Linked DNA regions of Homo sapiens: region 2 is linked to region 1. The links are contacts of gene promoters, found by promoter capture Hi-C in blood cells and fetal thymus (Javierre and others, 2016). All regions are on one chromosome and are shown on one strand. The core of a region is centred on a gene start or on the middle of the fragment in contact, and the rest is flanking DNA. Distances in the headings are between cores, read along the strand shown.

Region 1 (3,582 bases), core at 1-2,500:
GCCTAGGATGATCAGAACTGATATGCTTTGTAGAGAACAGAACTGTTTCCTTGGTATCAAATCAGTTTCATTGTGACACTTTGCCCAATGCATAGATTTCAGTTAGAGTTCTTGAAATATAAATCATAGCACCGGCTTTCTGCATACTAAAAATGAAAGTTTTTAAATCTTTTACAGAAGTTTTTGAAGAGTTAACTCACCAAGTGCAAGAAAAAGATTCTTTGGCCTCACAGCTCCATGTCCGCCACGTTGCCATCGAACAGCTTCTGAAGAACTGTTCTAAGTTACCATGTCTGCAAGTAGGGCGAACAGGAATGAAGTCGCACCTACCCATAAACAACTGACCTAAACAGACTTACTTCGTATGCCCTGCCCTTTATTGGTCTCCCAGACATGCAAACTTTGAAGAAGTTTGAAGAAAGTTGTGGTCCGTTTTTTTATGGTCATTAAATTTGCCAAACATAAGGCAGTATTTAACATCTTTGTCAAATAAAGCAGATCATTATACTCTAGTCTTCTAGGGCTAATCATTTTGGCTCATTTGGGGACTCTTTTTTCCCAGAATTACTAAACAAATTTTATCACATGTGACTACTTAAATATACTGTTACAGTGTCATTTTATTAAACATTTTAATTCACCTGTCAAAACAACAGATTAACTCCTTAGTGTAAACTACTAGAGATAATTTTTAAGAGGGAAATGGAATTCATATCACCTCTTATTTATTATGAGCAATATTTTAATATAAAAATTTTATATGTGAAAATGCTATTTTAGGTACTTTGCCATTCTCTTTATAAATGTGTATTTGAGTGGTTCTGTATATTTATTTACATTATCATGTGTGAATATGTTCACCCATATTTCAGGTCACTGCATTTTATTCTCTTAATACAATGTTTTCACAACGGTTACCTTGCTTTCCAAAGATAAATATATTTTGGATTAGAAATCTGAGTTGTTTTAATTTCTAATACCTCTTGTAAAAGAAGAATTAATAACTTTTTAAAGCAGTATTCAGGTAAATACAATACATTATTTTGTTTTCTAACAAAAGCAGTTCTTAGTTCAGGAAGAAAAGACTAATCTGGCTTCTATGTCAATTTGTCTCCATAGAAATGAAAGCCTCCTCTTGCTTCTTTCATTATTAGCTTCACACCAGTGACTGTGATGCATTAGAATTTGGACAGAGTAAGTCAAGCCTCACTTCCAATTCAAATATAATGTCTATCTTCAAATTGAGTGTGCTGTGAAATTGTTCTGTCTTTGAAAAAAAAAAGTAAGATTATTTTGTGTGCCACTTTGGGTAAAGTTTCAAGAATACTTAAACTGTCCAAATTGTATTATCACCATCATTGAACTTAGTGCTCAAAGAAAGCATTGTGAGGTATTTTTCTAAACTTTAGACTCTATAGAGAAATATAGGATTGTTCTACAGAAGAAAAGCAAAACTCCTAATTAAAAAAAAATAAACCTATGTATTAAGAGAATGTTCTCGTAAGTTGCCTATGATGCTTCCAAAGAGTTTTTATCTAACAGATTGTGCCAAACAGCTAGATAAATTTTAATAATGTATTACAGTAAAGGCTATAACCAATGCAGAATTAAAATGGGCTCTAAATTCTGTTTTTAACTCATGTTTAGAATGTACTTATGAGGTAGATCCTTGCTTGAAAGTATCTGCTGAAAAGCCCAGTAACGTGGCAGCTTCATGCATAAAGATATAAATGACATTTGCCTTAAATTTGGCAGCCTACCCTGGCTTGGGTCAGATTTTGTTGTTGAACACAAGAAAGTATTTAAGCAAAGAAACACTTCAGTTTAATTGAAAACAACTTTTTGTAATGCTGACGTGTTAAATTGGCCTGAGGGTATTAATTGATATCTGTTGATTTTGTTTTTCTTTGAAGTATAACATTACTTTTTGGAGGGAATTTTTGAAAGATGCTTTCGATTTCTCTCAATTCTTTAAGTCATGCAAAATGAATTTAAAATCCAGGGAGTATGGATGCATTGCCTTAGTTTTGATGAGCTTTAAATTAAATGTGTGCAATATCAAAATATTCAAACTTACAAGCTGGGTAAATACATTTCCTGATTAATATCTTAGTGCTTAATTGTTCCCACATTTTCAAATTTGACTTTACTCTTTTTTGGCGTAATTCAGTAAGATTGTTACCAGCCAGTGTGTTTGCACACATTTGGGTTTGTGTTTAGATGAGTTAGGGACAGTCATAAAAGTTGGGGATATGTTGCATTTGATATCAATAGTAGCATATTTCCAGAATATGAGCCATAAGTTGCAGTCCTGAATACAACAGTGTTATCCAAAGAAAGGAGTTTTCTGACAAATATACATAGCTTTGCTAATGAGTACGGAACAAGTGGATGAACGTGTGCATGTGCTAAGGTCTTAAGTGGGACTCTGATTTATTCCATTTAGATATTTCTACTTAAGCTCTAAAAAGGAGAGGTGCTCTTAAAAAAAACTTTGTGGTGCTGGTACTCACACTACTTTATTTGGATGAGTTCCTAGTAAAAAAAACTTTTTGTTGAAGTATTTTGCACAGCAGTTTATCCAAATGTTTGGTAAACTTATAATTTAGTCCTATGTTAGTTTTCTTAATCAAATATGCAATTACTGTGTATGCAAATATAAGTATCAGGTACAGAGTTGAGTTCTAACAAGAGAACATGAAATATCACAAATATTGTTTTCCACACTTGGCTATTCTCTACAGTTGTTAGTAATTTTTGAGAATGTTTTGAAGCATATCTCATGTACTACTGTTTAAAAAGTGGCAAAACAGACTGCCAGTCATCCATTACTAAATTTTCAGAGCTTATATGATTAAGGGGAGTGAGATAAGACAAATCTTTTTCACGTTCAGTTTTATAATTTGACACGTTAAATTGAGTTTTAAAAATTAGAAAAGTGTTTTTGACCACACAGGTTGTTCTCTTTAAAGTTCAGCCTTATAATGAAGCTAAAAATCAATTATGTTTTACTTTGAGATTATCATCTTATCCTTTGATCCTCATATTAATATCTAAATTAGTCTTTTTTAAAAGGCATGCACTTGAGACTCCAGTAATAGATGATTCAGGCAGCAGAATAGTGTTTTGTTGTGTCGTTGACTATGCACAATGGTGGAGCAAAGACACATTCTTAGTTTTTCAAAACACATGTTCATTTTACCACAAAGTGCCCATTTTTATATACATTTAAGGATTATTTTTTCAATGTCAAGTTCATGTTAGTGATTTCAGAAATATAGTCAAAATATATAGTCAAATATATCTTGACAGGCATCTTGAGATTTGGTTTTTCATTTTACTATATTTATGACTGAAAATGGTTTTGTGTTTTCTTTATGTTGTTTATATATTTTTTACCTTAGTGTTTACACTGGTAAGGCTTGTTAGTCCATTTTTGTAGTTTTTTTAAAGTAAGCTTTTAGATCTATTTGTGTTTTAATGTTTCCCAGTTTGGGTTTTGTTTTGTTTTGGAAGAATCTGCTTTCATTATTAAATTATAAAATGTAAATGCTCTAAAGTAGGAATTTTTAAAGAGTAAAT
Region 2 (3,730 bases), core at 506-3,005, 390 kb after region 1:
AATTCATTTTCTGGAGTAACATAACCTAGAGATAGCCCCGCAGGTCAACCAGTGGAACATTGGTAACTTCAGTGCCTCAGTAAAGCAACGAACAAGATTTAATGGAAATTAGGCACATTTTTATGGTAAATCAGTTCCATTTGTGAGATTTGCTCACACAGTGTCTAAGAAACCATGATAAGCTAGCAAACTACATTGACAATTGATTCCAAAATCTGCTGTCATATTCTCCTTCCTTCTGACGTGGCATGTTTCTCTCTTAGATGGCAAAATTATAGATCCCTGGGATTCTAGGTAGGAAGAAATAATTTTAAATGTAGGTTGCATAGCAACTTTTTGGGTTTTAGCAAAGCATCTTTGACATTTCTGCCTTCAGAGAGGAACCTAAGGACAATACAAAGGAGGAAAGAAACAGAAAAAACAGTCTCGTTTTTATTTCTAGACTTGCCAATGAAGTGTTAGACAATTTCCTTATTTTCTATTTGATTCCCCAAACACCCAGCCTTTCCTTTTACACTCACCCTTTAACTTTTTTTTTTTTTTGAGACAGGATCTTACTCTGTCACCCAGGCTGGAGTGCAGTGGTGTGATCTCCGCTTACTGTAACCTCCGCCTCCTGAGTTACAGCGATTCTCCCACCTCAGCCTCCTGAGTAGCTGGGACTACAGGTGCGCACCACCACACCTGGCTAATTTTTGTATTTCTTGGTAGAAACAGGATTTCACCATGTTGGTCAGGCTGGTCTTGAACTCCTGATCTCAAGTGATCCACCTGCCTCAGCCTCCCAAAGTGCTGGGATTACAGGTGTGAGCCACTGTGCTCGGCCCTTTAACATTTTTTACTTAAATAAAAAGCAGAACTTTTATTGAGAGTTCCTTAAAATAAAAGTAAAGCCTATTAGCTCATTCCTAAATCACAGAATAATATAGTTATATAAATCTGTGGCACGCAAAAATACAGTTTTCATACACAATTGCATTGTGTATGAAATTGCAAGCTAAAGCTAGTGAATTGCAAGCTAAATTGTGAATTGCATTGTGTATGAATTGCATTGTGTCTGAAATTGCAAGCTAAAGCTGGTGAATTGCAAGCTAAAGAGTAAAGTGCATGGATAGAAATAAGACCCACTGCTAATAAGCTGTAGTAAGTTGGAAAAGGCTATTGATCTCTGTGAACAGTTTCTATATCTGTAAATTGGGGTTACTGGTTTTAAGTGCCTCTAATATTCTAGGCCCTAAGATTTTTGTGTATTCTATTCTATACAAATGCAAGATCATAATATAGACAATACCCAAGAAGAAAAGATGAGGAATTCCTGGTTATAATCTGCTAATTTATTTGTCTGTTGTATGGCTTATGGTTTTTCTTTACTGCGTTTCCTAAAGGGACACAAGTGAATTACTATTGTCCTGTAATTTCTGTTTAGAAACCCTTTTCAAAGAGAGAAATCCTGCTAGCTCTCACTGGCCTTTGATTTGACAGTGTCACCGAAAAAAAATATATATCTGCCGGTGATTTAACAAAGTCCAGACTCTTGAGTGAAAGGGCAGAACCCAGGGGGTTGATCTGATTTTCCAGATCCTTTAATGTGAATTGAATGCAAGCTCACAAGGATGTCTTTCATTGGCTAACATCTTCCCTTTCTTCTCATATCCCAAATAAGAGGAGACAGTGCAGAACCTGGGTCATGTGAAAGGGAAAGTAGGCATGCCTGCATACTCTTTCCCCATGCCTCAAGAAATAAGAGGAAAGAGAGTTCTGTGTTTGTTGATTGCCTTACTGAAGTAAGCCACTTACTGTGGTAAAGCATATGTGAAGGCCTTACTGTTTTATCTTTTCTTTCTTTCTTTCTTCTTTCTTTCTTTCTTTATTTCTTTCTTTCTTTCTTTCTTTCTTTCTTTCTTTCTTTCTTTCTTTCTTTCTTTTCTTTCTTTCTTTCTTTCTTTCTTGCCTTTCTTTCCTTTCTTTCTTTCTTTTCTTTTGTTTGACGGAGTTTCGCTTTTTTGCCCAGGCTGGAGTGAAGTTGAAGTGGTGTGATCTCTCAGCTCACTGCAACCCAACCTCCACCTGACGGGTTCAAGCAATTCTCCTGCCTCAGCCTCCTGAGTATCTGGGATTACAGGTTTACGCAACCACACCCGGCTAGTTTTTGTTAGAGATGGTGTTTTGCTATGTTGATAAGGCTGGTCTCGAACTCCTGACCTCAGGTGATCCACCTGCCTCAGCCTCTCAAAGTATTGTGATTACAGGCATGAGTCACGGTGCCTGGCTGGGCCTTACAGTTTTTACTTTACAGATAGAGAAACTGAGGTATGGCATGATTAATACCTAAAAAATTACACAGCTAGACACTTGTGGAGTAGGAATTCAGTCCTAGATGTGTCTCTACTGCCTCCCCTAAATGCTGGGTCCATGGTGCCATAAAAGCAGGGGGCATCCCATGGCCTGTAGCAATTGTTGACAGTAAGTTAGATTGTTTCTCTGTTTTTAAGTTCAAGGATGTGAGTTGAATTAGTAAATGTTTTATAGTGGAGTCTATTAAAAAAAAAACGCGCAGCTAGGCATGGTGGCTCATGCCTGTAATCCCAGCACTTTGGGAGGCCGAGGTGGGTGGATCACCTGAGGTCTGGAGTTGGAGACCAGCCTGGCCAACATGGCAAAACTCCATCTCTACTAAAAATTAGCTGGGTGTGGTGGTGCACATCTGTAATCCCAGTAACTTGGGAGGCTGAGGCAAGAGAATCACTTGAATCCCGGAGGTGGAGGTTGCAGTGAGCTGAGATTGCACCACTGCACTCCAGCCTGGGCAACAGAGCAAGACTCTGTCTCAAAAAAAAAAGTTATAGGCCGATGCAGTGGTTCATGCCTGTATTTGCAGCATTTTGAGAGGCCGAGGTGGGAGGATTGCTTGAGATAAGGAGTTTGAGACCAGCCTGGGCAACACAGCAAGACCCTGCCTTTAGAAAAAATTAAACAATTAGCTGCAGTGAGCCACGATTGCATCACTGTACTCCAGCCTGGGCAATAGAGTGAGACTCTGTTAAAAAAAGAAAAAAAAGGTGCTTTGAACACCTTCATTAGGAATTTGTGCTGACTGAATTTTTTTGTAACTCTCAATTTTTTTTTAATGGCTTTAAAAGTAAGTGATGCTCAGAGAAGATAAGAAAATATGTACCTATAGTAGAGAGTTTGAGGGCAGGGGGTCCATATCTACCAGGAGGCAGCCTCTGATAACAGTCTTCACACAGGGCTTTGCACAAGTATATCACTGATGAAATTTAGAAAAAAAAAATAGCCTTTTCCCAAACCCCTGAAGGAGGTAAGTCAGTGATGAAGAGGTATTAGCAACACCGTATTTTCTTTAGGCCTAATCAGAACATGTTGGCTAAGATTTCTGAAAATCAAATTACAAACAGGTATTTGGTGCCTTCAGAAAAGGCAATATCTGTTTGGGTGAAGTAGCAGCAACCATAAGAACATAGCAAAGAAAGAAAAGGTGTGGGTGGTTTTTTTTCCCTTTATTTTCACAATTTCATTTTATAGATTGCTCAGTAACATCTGTTGGTTATTGAAAATCCCACGAAGAAAATTAAAGGCCCACGATTCACGGCTTTGCAAACACACACTGCGGAGTGGCTCATTTCTGAATACATAACTACCAGGCATGCTCCAGCATCAGCTCAGTTTGCCCTCGTTTCCTTACTCTTGTAAACGCAAAGGAGGGTGGTTT

Evidence for each region. The method cuts DNA at HindIII sites, captures the fragments that hold promoters and counts their contacts. A CHiCAGO score of 5 or more calls a contact.
Region 2: a contact is called between a fragment that was not itself captured here and the fragment with the promoter of C21orf91-OT1 in region 1, in 2 of 17 cell types (M0 macrophages and M1 macrophages). The highest score is 5.4, in M0 macrophages.

Annotation. Positions count from the first base shown.
Region 1 is chr21:17,790,177-17,793,758 of GRCh38, reverse strand. It overlaps C21orf91-OT1 (C21orf91 overlapping transcript 1), which reads left to right and starts at 1,250. Exons shown (of 4, transcript NR_038871.1): 1 at 1,250-1,282. C21orf91 (chromosome 21 open reading frame 91) reads left to right here. Exons shown (of 5, transcript NM_001100420.2): 5 at 178-3,582. The coding sequence ends at 344. All of the region lies in intron 2 of LOC124900465 (a long non-coding RNA gene), which reads right to left. The HindIII fragment of the contact is 3,892 bases long and covers 1-3,459 here.
Region 2 is chr21:17,398,312-17,402,041 of GRCh38, reverse strand. No RefSeq gene overlaps it. Among named protein-coding and RNA genes, the nearest start is that of LINC01549, 39 kb to the left of the region's middle. The HindIII fragment of the contact is 9,913 bases long and covers 1-3,730 here.